3 separate regions of the Homo sapiens genome follow, and regions 1 and 3 are each linked to region 2. The links are contacts of gene promoters, found by promoter capture Hi-C in blood cells and fetal thymus (Javierre and others, 2016). All regions are on one chromosome and are shown on one strand. Each heading gives the region's core, a stretch centred on a gene start or on the middle of the fragment in contact. The rest is flanking DNA. Distances are from core to core; before and after follow the strand shown.

The links. Contacts are between HindIII fragments. The CHiCAGO score rates a contact against its expected background, and 5 or more counts as called.
Region 1: a contact is called between a fragment that was not itself captured here and the fragment with the promoter of KBTBD3 in region 2, in 1 of 17 cell types (total CD8 T cells). The highest score is 5.3, in total CD8 T cells.
Region 3: a contact is called between a fragment that was not itself captured here and the fragment with the promoter of KBTBD3 in region 2, in 1 of 17 cell types (total B cells). The highest score is 6.0, in total B cells.

The regions. Positions count from the first base shown.
Region 1 is chr11:105,039,613-105,043,189 of GRCh38, forward strand. It overlaps CARD16 (caspase recruitment domain family member 16), which reads right to left. Exons shown (of 4, transcript NM_052889.4): 4 at 1,951-2,107. Among named protein-coding and RNA genes, the nearest start is that of CARD16, 3.9 kb to the right of the region's middle. The HindIII fragment of the contact is 323 bases long and covers 2,041-2,363 here.
Region 2 is chr11:106,076,060-106,079,698 of GRCh38, forward strand. KBTBD3 (kelch repeat and BTB domain containing 3) reads right to left here and starts at 1,288. Exons shown (of 4, transcript NM_198439.3): 1 at 1,253-1,288; 2 at 448-648. AASDHPPT (aminoadipate-semialdehyde dehydrogenase-phosphopantetheinyl transferase) reads left to right here and starts at 1,603. Exons shown (of 6, transcript NM_015423.3): 1 at 1,603-1,834; 2 at 3,408-3,633. The coding sequence starts at 1,652. RefSeq lists enhancers at 1,081-1,200, 1,211-1,320, 1,631-1,870. The HindIII fragment of the contact is 8,387 bases long and covers 1-3,058 here.
Region 3 is chr11:105,057,475-105,060,904 of GRCh38, forward strand. LOC107984381 (a long non-coding RNA gene) reads left to right here. Exons shown (of 3, transcript XR_001748352.2): 2 at 886-939. Among named protein-coding and RNA genes, the nearest start is that of CARD16, 14 kb to the left of the region's middle. The HindIII fragment of the contact is 4,901 bases long and covers 1-3,430 here.

The sequences.
Region 1 (3,577 bases), core at 952-3,451, 1.0 Mb before region 2:
CAATTTTTTTTCTATTAACTAAAGTATTTCACATGAGGGTTTCGCCCACAGCCAGAGCCATGAACCACTGAGTTGAAGCATGTCAGAGTGACATCCCAGAAACAGAAGCCATGACTAGACCATATATCTGGGAATGTAGAACCATAAGCCTTGAGTCTCATGTCATGGAAAGCTAAACACTGAGCCACTAGATTGCAAGGGCCCACTGTTTCCTCAAAAATGAAGATGTCAAAAACTGGAAACAAATAAATATCCAATTCCAGAGCATAAAATAACAATTTGTGCTATACATGTACACTGAAATGCTATTCAGTCATGAAAGGGAAAAATTACTAATATATGCAATAACATGGATGAAAAAAATATGTTTCAATTATGAGTGAAAGAAGCCATATAGGAAGGAACACATACCCTGTGATTCCAATTATATAAAGTTCTAGATTAGGAAAAACTAACGTACAGTGATAGAAATTCGATGACTACTTATCTGAGGAGGAAGTGGAAGGAGATTGATAACAATGGGCGTGACAAAACTTTCTGGGGTGACAAAATCGGTTTGCCTATTCACTAGGATGTTATTATACTAGAATAGCCATGTATCATTAGTTATCAACTTGTATTCTTAAAAGGAGTACATTTTCTTTGACGTAAATTATACAAAAATAACATTAAAATTTTGAAGCGAAAATGGTCAGTGGTTGTAATAATATATATTTTTTTGTTGATTTCTGGCTGGACACACTCCACAAATTTGTAAAAATTTTGGTAAGAGGAAGTTGTTCTTATAGTGACTGAGTTGTAATTACCAACCACCCAAGTTGGATGGGGAATTGTAGACAGAGTGGATATAATTTATAGGAACCAAATTGTTGACTTAAATGTGTACTTGGAAAATAGAATTACAAAGGTAAAATCATCTCAAAATAAATGAATGTAACAATTCTATTATAAGTAATATTTTAAATGTGCATAATGTTATAAAATCCTGTCAGTGTGAAGTCTGGGAAACAATATAATTTTAAATGACAGAGTAGGTACTGTAAAAATCTCTGACATAGAAGGCAGACAATTCTGTGCTTGGGTTTTGGCCATCCCATTTCCAAGCCTTAGAAGTTCATGGACACTTTCAGTTTATCCAACTCTTCTTAGTTATATTTTTGGACTATCAGCACATTTTGTGTAATACAACTTAGAGCACTAATCAACTATTACATGTTATTTTATTTTTTCTTTGTCTAAAAGCCTCTTTCTTTCTGCCCGGTTTATCAGTGTGGACTTTGGCATCTAATAGCCCTAGGGTCAACTTCTATTTATGAGCTGTAGATCTTAACCAAGTTATTTAACATCTCCCATCCTCCGTGTTCTCATGTATAGGAGGGGCCTCATTATCATTCTTACCTTCTAAGATGCAATGCCTGGTGTAGAGAGCATGCCACTATACCTCTCATTTATAGTAGTCATAAGCTATAGCCCAGAAGCAAGGTAATGTTAAAATGTACTTTTTGGTAAAGTGCTTCTAAATTATTCATATGCTTCATTTCAATATGTTAAATAAACATTAATTTCATTTTATGAATAGGAACAACAGGTAAAAAACTGACTCCAATTCTTGGTAAACACAAGTTGGAGAATTGGGTGAGAAGCAAGAGTCCACTTCAATACTTGCTCAATGGGATGTGCTTTTTTCCAACTGGGCACTACACTGGAAAATCTGGGTTATACAAGCAGACAAAATGGCTTGTTTGTGTCAGTGGGAAATAAATTCTAAGAGACAGACTGGGTGAAGACTATGATAATTTATGAGTTCCAGTTTGCAACTCTTTACCTAAACCTGGGATTCTAGGATATAGAGATCCTTTATGCAAGGGGAGCAGAAGTATGTTCCTCCAGAACCGCTCAATAAAATTGGTTCTAAGAAAAAGCCACTGCATTTCAAAACTGCCTGAAGTATATCTTTCACTCCACTTTATTATTGTATTCTGAACATGGCACCTCTGCAACTTTTGTTTCCATATCCTTTGAGCGTCTTCTAGAAAGCAAAGCTTGATTCTGCCTTCTGGGCTTGAGCATGTGGGCATAGCTGGGTTGTCCTGCACTGCCTGAAGAGCTGCAAGAGACAAGGAATATCATGAACAGTGGTATCCCTCTTTGTTCTTATAGCCTCACCTATGGAGGAAGCTACAAAAGAGGAAATACATTCCTAGAGGACAATCCTAATCTAGTCATTAACATAGTTGAGTGCGTTTGCTGCTAATGGAGCACATTTCAAGCCAGAGATTTCTAGGTATGCATTACAGGGAGGATCTACTTTCATATTTGAGCATAAGTATTTCTACAAGCATCTTAGATAAAAACAGAGAGGAAGCTTTTCAAGGCCATGCATGATAAAACACTCAGGAAACAGTCAATGAGTGATATAAAATAGTTAAAATATGATTTGTTTTCAAAGGATTCAAACCCTAGGATAAAATTTAATGGGAGCAGGTCTTAATTAACACTAATTAATTTTTAAAATATGTGTTTATCCTTTTATTTATTTACCTAATAGACATGGTAGTAAACACTGGGAATATTTTTTTAATGATCCCTTTTCCTGTCCTTCAGCATCTCCTCCTACAATGTATACATATGGGAGGACAAGAATATTGAATACGTAAACTAGAATAAATATAAAATAGAACGATGAATGCTAAAATCATGGTGTGCTCTAGATGGATTCATAGCACTAAACATTGCTTTCACGAACATATGAGGAAATGTTTTCACAGAGTTTATGTGAGAAAATCTTTGAGGCTTTTATTTCATCACAAGATCAACACAATCTGACAATGTGATGCACTTGTTAAAAAATTAATGTGATGTTTGTTTCAAGATAGAACTGAGGTTTCTAGATATCCAGAGGATCTTTTAGAAACTATTAAGGCAAAATAATAATATTTAATTTTGCAAACAAATTTGAAAAACTGCTATACAATCAGATAAACAAAGGCAGCATGAAGTGTGTTGACATGGAGAAGAACTAATTAGAATGATTATATTGGAGAAAACTATAAAATAATAATTTAGTAGAAGAAATGTTTGGTTTCTTTGTAAGGATTTGTGAAAGCAATAGAGAAAAACTAAAGAAAAGCATTTGAGTTATTTTTGAGAATACAGTATTTGGTTATATAGTGAGTATCCCATGCTGTGAAACATTTAAGAAAACATTCATGAGGTAATCATCCTTAATAAATTCAGTAGAGTAATATCTGAACTTGATAAAAACATGCATTTCTAGCCTCTAAATTGCTTTCAAATATAAGTTTCTTTTATTTTAAGGGGGGCACTTAAGGAATAAGAGTTCTTTAATAAAATAATAGAAGTAAGAATGAAGAGACATTTCCAAATTTGAGAGAAGAATGCATAAAACTTGGCCATGGCTTGAATATTGGAGGTGCATGAGAGGAAGGGGGCCAAGATGAGTTTCAAGTTCCTGGATTGAACAACTGGTGATGGTGGCATCAAAAACCAAGTTACACAAAACTGTAAGAGAAGCAGGGTGGGGAAGAATGGCATGTTCAGCTCTGAAATTGTTTAC
Region 2 (3,639 bases), core at 38-2,537:
GTTATAAAAATCAGTTTAAAACGACAAGAAGGAAAGGTTATATGATTCTTAGTTAAAAATGGAGAAGTGAGTTATGATCATTGCTGATATGGGTATTAGTATCACTTACGTATCTTTACACTGTCTCTTATTGTACTTTTTATGCGTATGATTTATTTGCCTTACCAGATTGTAAGCTCCCTGCAGCTGGTAAGCAGATTTTCAACATGGCAGCTGACACAGGCTTTTGGTTAGCTAAGATGATATATTAAGCCAATAATTCGTTTTACTGTCCTTTGGGGATCTGAATTTGTGTGTGTGTGTGCTCAGAATCCCATCTACTTTCGAGGGATTCGGGGGGCTTATGATATCACGAAAAGTTAATGAAGACAAGTATAGATAAAAACATAATAGAACCCATCTTAAATAGGACAGAAATCATAGGCAGGTAATTGTGTTAATTACTACCGCTGGCCTTTGGCTGATATTTCCGGGCAGTCAGAGGAAGAAGGAAATCGGCTGAATCCCGCAGTACCGCACTTTAATCGACCTCCAGGTAGTCATTTACAGTCATCTGCAGAGACCAACTTTTCCCTGGACCAAAACCTGCAGGGCACTTGGATCGCGTGGGCTTTCATACGAGAGTCAACAACAGCCTACACGGAACAACTAAGGAAACAGACATACATCAATATGACCCTTCGCAAAGTCTGAGAAAATAACTGAGCAAAGTTATTTACTTGTTTCTGTTGCTGTTAGAGCAAGGACCTCTGTCATGATGGAAACACTGATACCTCAACAATGGAATCCTGTTTTCTCGCTAGTGCTCTAGCCCAGGCTTGGCAATAGCAAAACAGCACCTGGGTCGCTTCATCGCCCCAAATAAACAGCCAGCATTAGCTCAGCTGCTCGCTGGCAGCCTCGGATCCAGGCGGGGTCAGTGTTGCGCACTGGGGATAGTGCCTCTGCTCGGCCTTCGGAGGGAGGGTTTCAGGTAGGCTGCTGCTAAGGGTCGGGAGCGTACTGTGTGAGGGTGGGTCTTAGGCTGATGCGGATGGGGGCAGGGAAAGAAGGAACTCAGGGCTGATGCGTTGCACAACTGCAGGGGGCACCACTGCAGACCCCCTCCTAGAGATGGAAACCTCTCGTGCCCCGTACACGAAGCAGCTGAAGCCAAGGACATTCTCTTCTCTGTGGGTCACAGGGGCCAACTCAGACCCTGAGAATAAGGGCTACCATCCCACTCCTCCCTCAGACCCCGGAGCTCACCCACCTGCAACTGCAGTCTCCGAAGTCTCCACCCCAGTCTCCCTGCCTCCAGAGGACTGGTTGCGATTGGCCTGCACCGCTGTCCCGTTAACTCTTCCGCAAGTGTGAGTGGCGTAACTGTCGGGCTCTTGGCCTTGGTCCCGCCCTTCGCTCGCCTCCGAAGCCTCGCCTACTTGACGTCATACAATGCCGCAAAGCGCAGGGCTGATCTCCGTCTCCGCCCCCAGCTGCTTTCTCCGAGAGGAGGTGGCTGAGTCGGGGGCGGGCTGGGAGGGCTGTCGGTGGGCCAGTCTGCGTAGCGACGGCCCGTCCCCTGCGCACGGACGCCGGGAAGAAGGGGGTGGGGCCACGTTTGCGTCCGCGCCATCAGGCCCGAGATAGCGGCGAGGTCCGCTTTCAGTGTATGGTTTTCCCTGCCAAACGGTTCTGCTTGGTGCCATCCATGGAGGGCGTGCGCTGGGCCTTTTCCTGCGGCACTTGGCTGCCGAGCCGAGCCGAATGGCTGCTGGCAGTGCGATCGATTCAGCCCGAGGAGAAGGAGCGCATTGGCCAGTTCGTCTTTGCCCGGGACGCTAAGGCAGCCATGGTACTACAGGTCTTTTTTGGTATTTAGAGCCTAGGAAGCAGATCTTGGGGGAGGCGGGCCGGGCTGTGGAGACCCGACACTCCCGCGCTGGCCGCGACCCTCTCGCTGTGGAGCCTGTGGCCGGCCCGGGCGACAGCAGCCGGCGCTGCGGAGTTGTGGGCGACGCACGGCCTGGTTTCCACGGCCTTTGTAACCGCCTTGGAGGCCGCGATGGCTGTAAACATTATCTCTTTCCCCTTGTTATTTCAAATGGAGACCCTCCTAAACCATGAAATAAGTGTAGGGAAGGCCGACAAAATTGGGTTTTTCTGTAATGAATGTTTTTATGTCTTTATCTTTAAATGTTATTTTTTTTTGTTTGTGTGCGTTCATAGCCTATGCTTATTCTGCCTGTTAAATATCCCATCATTCTCCAAGGACTCCCTGCACGTGGTAGGCCCTAGAAATTATTGACAGTATGATTTAGTTTGTAGCCCTGCGCTCCCCGGGATTGAAGCCAATGAAATTGAAGCCAGAGAGGATACCTTCCTCACTAGATGCCATGGGAAACAGTATTTTACGTAGATTTATTTATTTTAGCTATGTATTTTGAAGCAACAAATGGAAAACTGGATTTCAAAACAAGTAATCTGTACAATATGGTGCAATTTGAAACAACCGTGAATTACCATCATTTAAAAGACAGTCCTTTCTTAAAAATGTCCCATATTGAAACACTTTCTGTTTGAAATGTAGACTAGTTGATAATTTTTAAGGCACATTGGTGAAAATTTTTTACTCATTTGTAAGGAATTGTAAAATAAGCTACATTTAAAAGCCTGCAGTTTTTAAAAGTCAGTGTTAGAATTGAAGAAGAAAAAAACCTGAAAGATATTTTTAAAAATATATACTTTGTCATCTTATATTCTTGTTTTTTTGTGTGTGTGTTTTTAGTAATTATTTAAAAAATAATAATTGGAGGTGGGAGAGAGCAGAACAAGATAGGTCATGCCTTGCTAATTGTTGAAGCTGGGTGATCAATATATGGGATCTAGAAATACATATGCACAGATGTAGGTACAGTAGGGTTGCTCACTGCAGAGTTGTTTTTGACAGCAAGTCTAGAGCCAGCCTAAAATGTCCAATAAAGGGGAAATAATATTATGAAATATGCTACAGTTAAAACTGCATGGACCAGACGTGTGTGTACAGACATAAAATACTTCCCAATACTTATAAATTTAAAGCTTATATGTGGTAGAATACTGCATAAGTATAATCTCATGTTTGTGTTTATATGTAGAGTTAGCAAAAACATGTAAATGCACATATATTTAAATACAGAAAAGACTGACAGGATGCCAGCTGTTAACTTTGGTCACTAGCAAAGGAGAGGGAATTGCTAAGGCGGGCTTTAACTTTTTATCTACTTAAGCATTGCTTAAGTCTTAATTAACGTGTGTTTAATACTTAAGTATTTTGAAAAGTTTTAAAAATGAAAATTTTAGAAACCAAAAAAAAGTACTATTGCATACAGTGTGCTTGTATCTTTAGTAGACATCAGTACATACCAAATGTTTTATGTACTTAACAGGCTGGTCGTCTGATGATAAGGAAATTAGTTGCAGAGAAATTGAATATCCCTTGGAATCATATTCGTTTGCAAAGAACTGCAAAAGGAAAACCAGTTCTTGCAAAGGACTCATCGAATCCTTACCCGAATTTCAACTTTAACATCTCTCATCAAGGAGACTATGCAGTGCTTGCTGCTGAACCTGAGCTGCAAGTTGGAATTGATATAATGAAGACTAGTTTTCCAGGTAACG
Region 3 (3,430 bases), core at 543-3,042, 1.0 Mb before region 2:
GCTACAAAACTGGATGAGACAACATTCCATTTTGGAGTAATAGTTCCCTCCTAGTCCACACCACACACAGATACATATATACAGCAAACACTTAACAGAATATTGATTTCTGTACCATCCTGGTATTTTAAAAGCAAACTTTAAGTGAATGACCAACTTTTCTAGAAGAAACGGGTTTCAGATATCTTTTAACAAATTTTGAAATCAGCTATTCAAAGAAGAAATGTTGTCTAGTGACAATAGTACTGTGTCCAAGGTCAAAGGGACAAATATTTGTACGAGATTCTGACGTAAATGTGGACGTCTTGCCTCCAAAGTGCTGAACAACCAACACTAAGTTTTTTACCTTGTGTTTTATAATGTGAGGAAATAATATATCTCTTTTGGATAAGTTTGTAATAGTCATTCTGATCTATCCCCTTGTGAAATATAATATTCATCTCTTTTGACTGATATTGTGCAAGAAACTGGGAGATTCTTGAGCCTTCCTTCTGGAAAAGAAAAAAGAATTCATGCATACAAATTAGAAGAAAAGTTTACTAAGATATAATAACAAGGTTTCTTTTCATGAAAAGAATGGACAGGCATAGTATTTATGTTTGGTTACATGACCCAATCAAGACATAGGAACTATGAGTAAAGTACTATTATCCTGTCTACAATTTATATTGTTTTGTTATATTTCATGTATTTTTTCTATTTCAATCATTTGTTTCCATTCGTTTTTAATGATATTTTAGAATAAATATCTTGCTAAAGTGTATGATAAAAACCTGATCTCTGGGGATGCAACAAGTTTTAAGAGTATGTAAGGAAACCAAACCTTCTAAGCATATATTTCTTCATAGATTAAACAGTGACATATGTTCCTCCTTCTCATTTCAGAAAGTTCTGCCAATGTGAAGACATCCAGGGTCCTGATATATTCCAGGTCTGGGGGTATGTTTTCCTGTTTACAGGTTTGGAGAATTTCCTAAGTTAATAGTCATCTTTTAATGACCTTTATGCATCTAGATAGATAGATAGATAGATAGATAGAGAGATAGAGACATAGATATAGATGCATCTATATATGCATCTGTATATCTATCTATCTATCTATATATATATAAAGTGATTTTAGGTAAAATAAAAATTAGACAAAATTTCTCTCATATCCTATAGTAAAGTTAGCATGAAAATGGTTATTTTATTACAATATTATAAATATTATAGTGCAGATTGCTGCCCAAAGAGAGTTTCTATTAGCCTAGCAGTACAACAGAAAGAAATGTGGAAATCAGGAGTTTAGATAAGCATTTCAATTTGAGTCTTATCTGTTATGTAATGAAATAGGACTCTCTCAGGAATCTCCCCTGGAATCTCTTTACATTGAGACAAAAAGAGAGGGAGTGGTATAGGGTCAGACAAACAATTGCCATGGCATGTAGGGGTTTACATGGCTATGTCTCTGACTAAATCACAGTCTTGGAACTGTGATTTCTATATACTGCATAATATATGTATATTATGTGTGTATCTATATATTATATTATATATAATATTTTATATATATATATATGTTGGTTTGTTAAATGAAACAAACAAATAGCTAGGATTCTTCTTATCCTGAACTTCAGAATCCAATGCTCTGCTGGAAAACCTCAGAATTATAACCATATCCAAAGGCCTGGCCAAGGCCTAGACCTCTTCTAATAGCCTTGTTAACCTGCTTCCTGGTCTGCTGGGCTAGTGACCCTAAAACGTCCTGGGATCCATCACTCTGGAGAATCCAAATGCAGATAGAGTGCAGGGAGCCACTGGACCCCTGCTGCAGGTATCTGCAGCTACCTCCTTCCTGCCACAACCTCTGCTGATCAGAAAGGTTATTTCATTTTGGAATTTAGTGCTCATTATATATGAGAATTGTACGTGATAAATAATATATAATTATTGGTAAACTCTAGTAGTTCAGGGCTGCAGATTTCAGTGTAATTCTATGGAAAATTTTGTCTATCCCTGAAAAACATGGATCTGAGAATATTTAAACTCTAATAATACTCATAATATAATCTTACAGTCAAAAGTTTTAAAAAGTTATAAAATTTAAACATTTTATAGGAGTTCCCCAATCATATTTTTTTAATTCACAGAAATGAGTAAACACTGAAAAATTCCAATTTGTAGCATCCTAATAATAATTAGGAAAACTACTCTTTATTGCATGCATACACTTCATCTGTTTATTCATCACATATTAATTACGTATCTGCTATGTGCCAGGATCTCTAGTACTTACTCCTATTAATTATTGAAGAAACTAGTTACATTCTGGTGGCAGAAACTTAGTATATTTTAGCTCTTTTTACTTAAATGGAAAAGGGTTAAAAGTGGAACAGGTTTGTTCTGGAAAACAAAATGGTTAATTTCAGCTGTATTCATTTTGTGATGCCAGTGAAACACTCTAGTGGAATTGTTGAATATGCTGCTACAGCTAAATGAATCTGGAGCTCCAAGGAGAGAGTTCTGGATGAGGCCTAATATCTTGGAAGTTGTTGGTATGTGATGCCTGGCATTATATTGCCTCTAGCTTTACATAGTCTTATGAAAAAGGACTGGAATTGTCCCTGCTTTATATGTGGTAAGACTGATGATTAGTCAGCTACAGCGTTTAAGATACATGCAGGAAGACATATACTTTACTGACAGAATCTAGGTTTAGATTTGAGTATCTCTTACTACAAAGCATCTACTATTAATTATTTCTATGAACAGTCTGAACCTGAGGACTCAGCCTTTTAGCCAGTTGGAAACTGGATCCCACCCCACAAAAGGCAAGGTAGTCCCTTAAAGAACAATCACAGGTTTAATGAAAATGACAGATTTGTAAAGGAAGGATAGAGAGATCACAGAAGACACTGCATGGGCCTTGGAGTTGAATAGAGTCTAAAAAAATGGAGATATCCATTGTAAAATACCAATCTTACCTTTCATACTGGTGGACTTTTGGTACGTATTAAGTAGGGTCTCGATAGACTTTTGTCCAGCCACAGGGTTCTTTAGCACATTGTCTAGCAAGATGAGGGCTTTGTCTTCAATTTCGGCATAATATTTTTTCTTTTCCTTTCTCTTCAATATCAGAACTTTTTTTCTTCACAAGTTATTCAAATTGTCATGAAGAATACCATGGCCCCCACACCTCCTTCTGTTCATCCTTTCTTCTGATCTGTCAGTTTTTCTACCTCAGCTAATCTAAAATACATGTCCTGAATGAGTAAAATTTAACTAGTCTCCTTGCATTTTCCCGTAATAATTAACCAAATAGTTTACATTTCACTTTTTGTTTTCATTTCAATTGTTTTTTTAGATTCAGGGATACACACGCAGGTTTGTTAAAAAGGTATATTATGTGATGCTGAAGTTTGGGGTATGATTTAACCCATCACCTAGG